Regions from separate parts of the Homo sapiens genome. Here region 2 is linked to region 1. The links are contacts of gene promoters, found by promoter capture Hi-C in human tissues and cell types (Jung and others, 2019). All regions are on one chromosome and are shown on one strand. Each heading gives the region's core, a stretch centred on a gene start or on the middle of the fragment in contact. The rest is flanking DNA. Distances are from core to core; before and after follow the strand shown. Region 1 holds the start of CYP2F1 (cytochrome P450 family 2 subfamily F member 1). Region 2 has its middle 37 kb from the start of CYP2B6.

Region 1 (6,037 bases), core at 313-2,812:
ACAGATAAGGAGACAGAAACACAGAGACATAAATGGAGAGAGGCAAGTGATAGAGGAACAGAGACTAAGAGAGGCCAAGAGATATGCATAAAGATAATGAGAGAGACAGAAAAACAGTGAGCGATCTACATATCTACAGATGTCTGTCTACCTATCAGCCATCTATCATCTATCACTCTTTCTTTCCTTCCTTCCTTCCTTTCTTTTTCTTTCTTTCTTTTTTCTTTTTCTTTCTTTCTTTGTTTCTCATCTATTATCTAACATCTATCAACATCTATCTATCATCTATCTATCTATCTATCATCTATCATCTGTCTATCCATCATCTATCTATTCTTCTATCATCTATCATTGATCTGTCTATTATCTATCATCTATTATCTATCTATATCTATCATCTATCTACTATCTTCATAATCTATCATCTGTGTATCATCTGTCTATTATCTATCTATCATCACCTGTCTGTCAAGAGACTGTCATACAGAGACAGTGATAAAGAGAGATCAAGACACACAGGGACAGAGACAGACAAACACAGAGATAGGGAGAGCCAGAGAGCACATCACAGAAAGAGAGAGGCTGACATAGACTAGAGAAAGAAAGAGACAGAACTAGACAGACACAGAGCTAGAGAAAGACAAGGGAGATTGAGTGGAGAGACAGTGAGATGGACACTGACTGAGAGACAGAGAGGGACATGGAAGGATGGAGAGAAAAAGGGTAAGAGGGACAGAGAGAGGGAGAGACAGAGCTAGACACAGAGACTGAGGGAGACGAGAATGACAGACAGAAACAGATACACAAAGACAGAGTCACATAGACAGAGATGGAGAGAGAGAGAGAGAGAATAAGAGAGGCAGGGAATATTAGAGCCACACAAAGAGACGGGTAGGCTGCAAAGGGCAGACCAAGAGAGACTGAGGCCGGGCACGGTGGCTCACGCCTGTAATCCCAGCACTCTGGGAGGCCGAGGCAGGCGGATCACTTGAGGTCAGGAGTTTGAGACCAGCCTGGCCAACATGGTGAAACCCTGTCTCTACTAAAAACACAAAAATTAGTCAGGCGTGGTGTTAGGCACCTGTAATCCCAGCTACTCAGGAGGCTGAGGCAGGAGAATCGCTTGAACCCAGGAGGTGGAGGTTGCAGTGAGCTGAGATTGAACCACTGCACTCCAGCCTCAAAAAAAAAAAAAAAAAAAAAAAGAGAGAGAGAGAGAGAGAAAGAGACGGAGACAGAGAGGAAGGGCACAGGCAGAAACAGTGACAGGAAAAAATCAAGTGTTGCCAACCATGGGGTTGCATTGCAGAGAGAGAAGCCACCTACTTGGTGAAGCACCAGTAAAGAAATCCCAGTGCTCAGAACAGGGACATGAGAGCTCTCAGAGGAAACAGCAAAAAAGATTCCTAGCCAGTCTCAGAGACAGAGATTGGAGCTGGCGACCCACCCTCTCTTGGGAGACACCCCCTCCTTCTCTGCCTCCCTCACCGGGGCCCTTTACCTGCTGAGCTGCAGGAGACACTGGCTGGGATGCGCTAGAGCCTGCAGCTCTGGGTGTGCTTGGGGGGTGGTGGGGCAGAGGTTGTTCTTAAGTTGTTTCTGCCCACACCCTCCTCCTTAACCCCACTTTTCTTGTTCTCGCTGTGAACTTTAAATCCCTCCCATCATCTTGCCATACCTTTCCTGCGGCCCTAGGGCTCACAGCCAGCTGGAAAGGTGCCGTGGGAGGGGGCTGCGCCTGGGGGCCCTCCTGGGATGGGGCAAAGCTTTCTTTCTTTCTTTGTTTTTTTTTTTTGCTTTGCCAGTTGGAGCCTGGGCCTGGTTTTGGGGTAGTCATGGGGCTGTCGCAAAATGATGGGCCAGGGATGGGGGCTGGGTTCCTTTGGTATTTGGGGCACTTGTTTCTTTTTCTCTGGGTTCAAGTCCATTTCTGCCACTGATGGGCCGAGTGGCCCTGGCTAAGTCCCTTTCCCTCCAGAGCTGGAGTTTTCTCTTTCTCTGGAAGCCTATTTTTTCATAGTTCTCCATGCTGTTCCCTGTCTCTTGCCGTGGGTCTCTGAAATGCTCTGTGTCTTGCTTTGCTTCTGCCTCTACAGTCTCTGCCTCTGAATCTTTTTGTCTCTCTGTGTCTCTGTCTCTCCCTCCTTTGGTGTCTCTGGGTCTTCATTTCTTATGCTCTCTGGGCTTTCTCCTTCTCTCTGCTTCTCTCCCTGATCTCCCTGTAAGTCCCTCTCAGTCACTGTCTCCTGATCTCTCTGGTCTCTCACTCTCTCTATCTCTCATGTCTCCACGAGTCAGACTGCACTTGGTGGGACTGAAGCCAAGCTGAGGCTGAAGGAGTGTTTAAGAAAAGGGCAGAGCTGGAAGCCACAGGGAAAAAGCCTCTCAGACTAGAATGACACTCTCTCCCACCACTGGCTCATAAACAGCCCTCCTCCTGCCCTCCTGAGCACCCTACTAGCCATGTCTACTCTCAGCTCCTGCCTTAGAAACTCACCCTAGTAGGCCAGGCGCAGTGGCTCACGCCTGTAATCCCAGCACTTTGGGAGGCCGAGGTGGGTGGATCACCTGAGGTCAGGAGTTCAAGACCAGCCTGGCCAACATGGTGAAACCCTGTCTCTACTAATAATACAAAAATTAGCCAGGCATGGTGGCTCACGCCTGTAGTCTGAGCTACTTGGGAGGCTGGGGCAGGAGAATCGCTTGAACCCGGGAGGTGGAGGTTGCAGTGAGCTAAGAACATGCCACTGCACTCCAGCCTGGGCAACAGGGTGAGACTCGGTCTCAAAAAAAAAAAAAAAAAAAAAAGAAGAAGAAACTGGCCCTAGTTACCCACCTCCTGGCCAGGTCACAAGGGCAGAATGCAAAACCTGGAGCTGGGCCAGGGCTCTGGTGCCAGGGGCTAGGCTGGGTGGAGAGCCCCTGCGGTCAAGGGTCTGGGAGGCCAGGTGGAGGTGTGGGTACCCCCACAGGTTCGTGGGTGTGCACCAGGATTGCTGTTCTCAGAGGGGCAGAGGAGGAAGTGTTTGGAGGTCCTGGGGAATTTGACACCCTAGGTCCCAGGCATATGGTGGGGTGGAGGTGGGGCCCATGCTGTTGTTTCAGTCCTGGATAGGCCGGTTGGGGCAGGTCCTGGAAGAGGGCTGAAGGCTTGATGATGGGATTATATAGCTCTAGTTTCCCTTGGCGTCTACTCCCTACTTTTAAGGGGAGGGTGTAGTGCTGTATCCACGCCAACCCTGTAAGCAACTTATCCCTCACCCTAGAACTTGGTTAAGAGGGGCCTAATGAGGCTGGGCGTGGTGGCTCATGCCTGTAATCCCAGCACTTTGGGAGGCCGAGGTGGGTGGATCACCTGAGGTCAGGAGTTTGAGACAGCCTGACCAACATGGCAAAACCCTGTCTCTACTAAAAATACAAAAAAAATTAGCCAGGCGTGGTGGTGCTTGCCTATAATCCCAGCTACTCAGGAGGCTGAGGCAGGAGAATCACTTGAACCCGGGAGGTGGAGGTTGCAGTGAGCTGAGATTGTACCATTGCACTCCAGCCTGGGCAACAAGAGTGAAACTTTGACTCAAAAAAAAGAAAAAAAAAGAAAAAAAAGATGGGCCTAATGGGACCACCTGATTGGGGAAACTGGGATTTATGGGAAGGGCAGTTAGTTAGTTTGTTTTGACACAGGGTCTCACTCTGTCACCCAGACTGGAGTTTAGTGGTGTGATCATAGCTCATTGCAGCCTCGATCTCCTGGGCTTAAGGGATTCTCCTGCCTCAGCTTCCCAAGTAGCTGGGACTACAAGCACGCATCACCACACCTGGCTAATTTTTAAAATTTTTAGTAGAGATGAGATCTAGCATGCTATGTCACCCAGTCTGGTCCCCAACTCCTGGGCTCAAGCGATCCTCCCACCTGGGCCTCTGGGGATTACAGGCGTGAGCCACCATGTGTGGCCGAGAAGGGGGGTTTTAAGAGGCTTTGAGTTCTGTTATTCTGACTTGCTCTCCTGCTACAGAGGGAACTTGGGGCAAGGAAGGGATGTATTGCAATTTCTCAACTCACTGCTGTTGATGTCTTGGGCCTTCATGGGTGGTGGGGGCTGCATCCTGTGTGTGGTAGGATGTTTAGCAGTGTCCTTGGTTTCTACTCAGTAGATGACAGAACCCACCCACTCATTCCCTACCAGTTGTTACAAACAAACATGACTCCAGATACTATTGAATGTCCCCTTGGGAGGAAAAAAATCAACCCAGTTGAGAACCGCTGGGGTATTGCAGAAAGCTGAAACACACTCCGTGGTGGAAAAATGCCTCGCCTCTCATTGTCCTCTCTTGGAACTCCCCCCGCCCTATTCCTATCCTTTTGTTCCTGCCTCCTCAAACTCCAAAACCCTCTTCAGTCACCTCACTCTTTGTTGATGAACCCGCTTCTTATCTCACGGAGAGAATGGCAGCAATGGGCAGTAAGCGGGCGCATCCTCCATCATCCTGTCCTCTTGCCCACTGGCATCTGGACGGCACATGCAGCCTTCCTTCCTGCTAGAACCACACAGTGTCCCATGTCAGGCTTAGGTGAGCCCCCTTCTGGTGTGCCAGATCCCATTCCATCGCCAACTGGAGGACTTGATTCTATTTACTGTGTCATAGTTCCTGTGAAGGTGTGTAGATGGAGTTTTCCCTTAACGATTTCTTTAGGTAAAATTTACCTGTGATGAAATACACACATGGTAAGTGAACATTTGCTGAATTTTGAAGGTATCGAAATCCCTGTGAAGATACAGAATATTTTCATCATCCAAGAAAGTTCTCTTGGAGCTGGGCGTGGTGGTTTGTGCCTATAATCCTAGCTATAGGAGGCTGAGGTGGAAGGATCACTAGAGGCCAGAAATTTGAGACCAGGCTGTGCAACATTGCGAGACCCCTGTCTCTACTAAAAAAAAGAAAAAAACAATAGCTAAGTGTGGTGGTGCACGCTTGTAATCCCAGCTACTCAAGGGGCTGAGGTGGAAGATCACTTGCACCCAGGAGTTCCAGGCTACAGTGAGCTATGAACACACCCCTGCACTCCAGCCTGGGTGACAAAGAGAGACTCCCTTCTCTAAAGTAATAATAATAATGAAAAGAGAACCCTCCTTCCTACTCCTTCCTAGTCAACCATGCTCCATCTCTTGTGGGCAACCATTGTTCTAGGTTTTTTTCTCTTCTTTTGAGACAGGGTCTTGCTCTGTCCCCCAGGCTGGAGTGCAGTGGTGTGATCATTGTTCACTGCAACCTTGACCTCCCTGGCTCAAATGATCCCCCGGCCTCAGCCTCCTGAGTAGCTGGAAGTAGAGGCCTGTGCCATCACAACTGGCTAATTTAAAAATTTTTTGTAGAGGCAGAGGTCTCCCTATGTTGCCCAGGCTGATCTCGAACTCCTGGGCTCAAGCAATCCTTCTGCCTCAGCCTCCCAGAGTGCTGGGATTACAGGCTTGAGCCACTGCATCCAGCCCTGTTCTAGTTTTTTCTTCCCACTATTGATCTACATTTCATATAAATGAAAATCTACGGCTGGGCATGGTGGCTCACGCCTGTAATCTTAGCTTTTTGGGAGGCTGAGGCGGGTGGATCACCTGAGGTCAGGAATTTGAGACCAGCCTGGCCAACGTGGTGAACCCCTCTCTCTATGAAAAATACAAAAATTAGCTGGACTTGATGGAGGGTGCCTGTAATCCCAGCTAGTCGGGAGCCTGAGGCAGGAGAATCACTTGAACCTGGGAGGCGGAGGTGGCAGTGAGCCAAGATCATGCCACTGTACTCCAGCCTGGGCGACAGAGCGAGACTCCGTCTCAAAAAAAAAAAAAAGAAAAGAAAATCTACAGCATTTCTTCCATATACCAAGCCTGCTTCTGGGAAGCATACGTAATGCTTTTGAGAGTTAACCATGTGTTACATACATCAGAAGCTCATTCCTTTTCATTGCAGAGTAGCATGTCACCGCATATAGATGTGCCACAATTTGCTTTTCACCAGTTGATGGAAATGTGGATTGTTCCCAAGG
Region 2 (5,978 bases), core at 1,253-3,752, 160 kb after region 1:
GCTCAACAGAGATGTTCATCTGAGCCATCTGATGAACTGGGGGTGCAGAGACATTCCGAGGTCTTTTCCTCTTCCTTGGGTTCTGGCTCATGGCACAACTTAAGATGTCTTGTGGGTACCCAGACAGGAAGCTGATTCTCTCCTGGTGAGATACAAGCAAACCCTCAACCCCAACAAGACCCACTGGGGCCTTTTGTTTGGGCCACTTTTTTGGTCATTGATAAAGAGCTATGATGGACACATCTGCTCCTGTGTCGACCACACCCTCAAATTGTTTTCCTTGAATAGTGACCATACAAATAGATCTATTGTCAGAGACTTGATTTACCAATAGGGAGGCTTGCCTGCTGAATTTGTGCTTCCAAATTATTCTGTTCTTTTTTCTGAGCTTTCTTCTAAATTAATATACAGTAAAAGCCACAGTTGAGCTATTCTGTCACCTGGATTAGCACTCCAGGGAACAGTGGAGGAGATAACAATTTGAATTTCTCCCTGGCAATCAGAGTCCACTACTCCAGTGTGTACTTGAATTGCCTTTAAATTTAAGTTGGACCTTCCCACCTTGCCATCTGGCAATGGGTCATAAGCTCCCATTGGGACCTTCCTAGGAGGCTCCCCAGGAAGGAGGGATACAGCTTCAGTACAGCATAAATCTACTGCCCCACTTTTAGCTGTGGAGGGGAACAATTGCTGCACATTTGTACAGGGAAAGACTGGGCTGGGAACACCCCATTTGTAGTCAGGGACGTCCTGTCCTGAATTGGGAATGCCCCATTTTGAATTAGGGCCTGTGGCTGGCCCCTCTGTCCATTTCCTGGCAAGGGCTGTCCGCTGTTATCAAACTTTGAATGACAGTGATTAGCCCAGTGTTTTCCTTTTTTACATCTGGGACAGGTACCTGGTTCCCTGCTTTTTCCTCCTAAGTTTTGCCTTTTTTGTACACTCTCTTTTTGTATGTCCTATCTGTCCACAATTATAGCAAGATCTGGGGAACACTCATATGTTTTTTGTTACCCTTAGTCTAGCCATTGCCGGAGCAAGAAGGCTGGCCTTATTCAAGTGCCTCCAATGCCATCACAGGCTTTAATGTATTCACTTAAAGTTTTTTCCTCATTTAGATCTGCCTTTCCCTTAATAGGTCTAATTTCTGCCTGACATTCTGTATCAGCATTTTCATAAGCAAGCAGCTGAACTATCACTTTCCTGACATGAGAATCCAAAATAGCCTTTTGAGCCGTGTCTTGCAAATGGGTGATAAAATCTGGATAAGGCTCCTTTGGACCCTGTTGAACTGAGTTAAAAGAAGTATAAGTAGTACCAGGGTCGTGAATTTTTTCCCAGGCTCTGAGGCATATAGTTCTGAGCTGATCAACAGTCTCATCACCCATTACCATCTGTCAATTTAGAGTACCCCATGCCTGTCTGATTCCAAGCAAGTGATCAGATGTGATATTAACAGGAGGTTGGGCTTGAGCATTTCTGCATGCCTGATTTGTTGTTGCTTGATCTGTCCGCCAGGTTTTAAATTGGAGAAACTCAGTGGGGGACAGGGTAGAGTGGGCTAATGCCTCCCAATCCATAGGTATTAAATGCCTGTTATAAGCCACAGATTGTAACAAGGAATGAACCTAAGGAGAATTTGGCCCATATTGTCCAATTGCTTGCTTTAAGTCTTTTAATATTTTAAAAGGAAATGGCTCCCAGCATGCTTCAGCATGTTGTCTGGGCTCCTCAGCTGGAGAAATAATTACCAGAAACTGCCAAGCATCCAAATCCCCCACATCTCATGCCTGGTAAATAGATGCCTGGATTGTCCCTGCACCGTAATTTGTATTTGGACCTGCTCACAGCATTCCTCTACCATAATTAAAAGGTGGACAAGCCTGGATCATTCCCTCACCATAATTGGCTGTTGGGTGAGCCTGAAGCTTCCCTTCAACATAGTTAATTGTGGGGCATGCAACAATGGGAGCAGCAAGTCATGTCTCAGGCTCCCATTCCAAAAATTCATAAGGCTGAGGCGGGGGTGGCCATTCTGGACCTTCCCCTAAAGGCGCAGTGGGTGGCACTGTTTCTGCAGTAGGTGGAAATGTTTCTTCTATAAGTTTTTGGAGGTTAGCATATATCCCTTTCTCCCCCTTTTTAAAACTAAACTGTGATGGTTCACTTTGCAGATCATCAAACTCCTGATTATTAAACTTTTCTATGTCATCCTGAAACTTCTCATCCTCCTCAGTGTGGAAAGGCTCCAGTGGTATTTTGATTGCTGACCACACAGACCAAGCAGACAAGGGAATATTGTAGCCCTCTTGTTGTGCTCATTTTAAGTCTGCTCCGAACTTGTCGCAGTCTTTTACATTCATGGTTCCATATTCCGGGAACCAAGGGGAATACTTTTCTATGAGCTGGAACAAAGATGTGAGATTTTGGGTACTCACAATTGCCCCTCTGTGGCACAATAACTGCCACACCAAGCTTAAGTAATTAGCAAATTTACTCTCAGCCTGACCCGTTTTCCCGAGGTTACCGTGGAATTCTCCAAGCACACTACTTATCCACAGAGCTTGAAGTGAAAACATATTCAGGCACCCTTTTTCTGTCATCTTCCACTTTCCATGCTCTAGCATTCCTTCACCAGATTATTTGTAGAGATAACGGGGAGTCCCACGTTGGGCGCCAGATGTTGGGGAAACCAGCCCCACACCACCCTGCAGGTACCGCGAGTCCAACGGAGACTAAAGAGTTAGAAAGAAACAGAGTGAGAATTTAAAAGGTGGGTCCGGGGGACCAGAGTGTCAGAGGCTTGCTCATGGCCCAGAGCTCTTTGGCTCTGCCTAATTTATTGGCTTACAAGCTCTTTGTTCTTAGGGCAGATGAGAAGGCAAGGAAGGGATGAGAAAAAGGATTAATCAATGAAGGAGAACTCGTGAGTTATTCAATAAGATGTAGAGCAGTGGCAGTTTCTGTGAATTTCCTTGAGCAAAGGCGTGTGTCTAAACTACTTAAAATCTTATCAGGACTGAAATGGGTGGGAGTGGGTTTCAGAAGAAGCCAAGATGTTTGATTGTACTTCACTGCTTTAAGGAAGTGTTATCTCCCTGAGCAACCTGTGGAATGCCGCTGAGCAGGTATGCTCTGGGAGCATAAAGACATAAAGACAATAAGGAGACTTTTCTCCTCAGAGGCCGCCCATGGCTCCCCATGGGTGTCTCACATAGGGGAGACCAACTCATCTGGTACTCCAGAAACTCTCTTTCCCACACCAGCTTGGCCTGGGAAGCCTTGTGAGCAGCCGGCACGTCATTATTTTTCTGATACCACTTCTGTACCAGGCCCTGACAGACCTGATCTCTTTTAATCCCAACAAGAAGACTCAATGATAATTGTTACAGTGCATTCTTACAGTGCACAATGATATCCCAGACACTTTTTGGAAGTGCAAAAAGCTCTTTGCACATACCTCACTGAATCTTCAAACAGCCCCACATTAGAGGTGCTATGATGATCTCTGCTTACAGAGGCAGAAATAAGGCACACAGAGGGCTTAAGTCACTTCTCAAGGGCACCAGCAAGGAGCTGGGATTCAACATCCAGACAATCTGGCTCCAATCAGTGATATTATCTCCTTCATTCCTGACAGACGGGAAGCTGAGAACTCTAAAGATGTGGCCCCCAGATTTGGAGAAGTGGGAGTTCTTATATAGATGTCAAAATATCACCCAAAGGAGCCAATGAACACCCTGAAATAGTCATGCAGCTGGGTGGCATTGTACCCACCTAGAAAAACTCCATGCAAGTATTTTGGATCCCTTGAAGGCTCAGCTCTTATTTACTCCACAAATATTTATTGTGAACCCTACTATATGTCAGGCACTTGTTCTGGAGGGTGGGGGAACCCACAGGGACCAAAGCAAACCATGACAACAGTAATAATTAAGTAAATGAGAACCTGCCAGGTGCAATGGCTCACACCTGTAATCTCAGTGCTTTGGGACGTCAAGATGGGGAGATCATTTCAGACCAAGAGTACAAGACCAGCCTGGGCAAAATAGCAAGACTACATCCTTTCAAAATATTTAAAAGTTAGCCAGAGGTGGTATCACAAACTTAGTCCTCACTACTCAGGAGGCTGAGATGGGAGGATTGCTTGAATCCAGGAGTTGGAGGCCGCAATGAGCCATGATCACACCACTGCACTCCAGTCTGGGTGATATGGTTTTGCTGTGTCCCCATCCAAATCTCATCTTGAATTGTAGCTGCCATAATCCCTACATGTTGTGGGAGGGACCCGGTGGGAGATCATTGAATCATAGGGGTGGTTTCCCCCATACTGTCCTCATACTAGTCAATAAGTCTCATGTGATCTGTTGGTTTTATAATGGAAAACCCCTTTCACTTGGTTCTCATTCTCTCTCTTGCCAGCGCCATGTAAGATGTGACTTTTGCCTTTCAGCATGATTGTGAGGCCTCCCCAGTCATGTGTAACTGTGAGTTTATTAAACCTCTTTTTCTTTATAAATTACCCAGTCTAAGGTATGTTTTTATCAGCAGCATAAAAACGGACTAATACAATGGGCAACAGAGCAAGACTCTGACTCTATAAATAAATAAAGACAGATGGATAGATACATAGATGATAGATACATAGAAAGATAGGTGATTAGATAGACAGATAGATATAGATAGATAGATAGATGATAGATAGATAGATGATAGATAGATGATAGATAGATAGATAGATAGATAGATAGATAGATAGATAGATAGATGATAGATAGATAGATAGGAAATAAGAACCCTGCCCTCCCAGAGCTGTCATTTTACCAGGAGGAAACATTATCAGAGGCAATGCCTGCTTGCTCCCGGAAGGTGCCAAGTTTGCTTTCTCACCTCCGGGCCTTTTACCTTGCTGTTCCCTCAGCTGAGAAGGCTTCTCACCACACCTTCTCATGGCCAACTCTCAGAAGCCTTCTCAAAGAAGCCCTCTCTGACCACTCAATCTGAAAGAATCCCCCATGGAACCTTTGTACACTGTTGGTGGTAATGTATATTAGTAGAGCCACTTTGAGGAACAATATGGAGTTTCCTTAAAAAAAAAAGTAGAAATAGGCCAGGCGCAGTGACTTATGCCTGTAATCCCAGCACTTTGGGAGGCTGAGGTAGGCAGATCACCTGAAGTCAGGAGTTCAAGACCAGCCTGGCCAACATGGTGAAACTCCATCTCTACTAAAAATACAAAATCAGCCAGGCGTGATGGTGGGTGCCTGTAGTCCCAGCTACTTGGGAGGCTGAGGCAAGAGAATGGCTTGAACCCAGGAGGCAGAGGCTGCAGTGAGCTAAGATCATACCACTGCACTCCAGCCTGGGTAACAGAGTAAGACTCCATCTCAAAAAAAAAATAAAATAAAATAAAAATAAACAAACAAAAAAGAAAAACATTAAAAATCGAGCTACCATACAATCCAGCAATCCCACTGCTAAGTGTATTCCAATAAAAGGAAATCTGTATACCGAAGAGATGTCTGCACTCCCATGTATTTCGCAGCTCTGTTCACAACAGCCAAGATATGGAATCAACCTAAGTGTTCATATGGTGCCCATACAGATGGGAGTACTATTCAGCCATTAAAAAAGAAAAAGATCCTGATATTTGCAGCAACATGGATGGAACTGCAGGAAGTTATGTTAGGTGAAATAAGCCGGGCAGATTCTGCTGTCACTCTTAAAAGACATGTTTCTCTGTTTGTTGTTTTATTTCTGTGGTTGGTGAGGGAATGTGTGCCATGCATTTGCACAGGCAGAGTCCCTGCTAACTCTTCAGAGGCTACAAGGAGCCTAAAGCTGGCAGGTGCTGCAGAGGCCAAAAGGTTAGCATCTCAGGGCTGAGTCCCAGAACCAGCTTCCCATTGGCCACAGGCTGGCTGATGTATCCTTGCGATAAAGATATTAAACTTGCAACAACTCCCTCAGGGAAGGGT

Evidence for each region. Contacts are between HindIII fragments. The study calls those that stand out against the background at their distance.
Region 2: a fragment that was not itself captured here is called in contact with the fragment with the promoter of CYP2F1 in region 1 in 2 of the 25 tissues and cell types used here (IMR-90 fibroblasts and stomach).

Annotation. Positions count from the first base shown.
Region 1 is chr19:41,109,957-41,115,993 of GRCh38, reverse strand. It overlaps CYP2F1 (cytochrome P450 family 2 subfamily F member 1), which reads right to left and starts at 1,562. Exons shown (of 10, transcript NM_000774.5): 1 at 1,502-1,562. The HindIII fragment of the contact is 13,902 bases long and covers 1-6,037 here.
Region 2 is chr19:40,951,457-40,957,434 of GRCh38, reverse strand. No RefSeq gene overlaps it. Among named protein-coding and RNA genes, the nearest start is that of CYP2B6, 37 kb to the left of the region's middle. The HindIII fragment of the contact is 3,838 bases long and covers 584-4,421 here.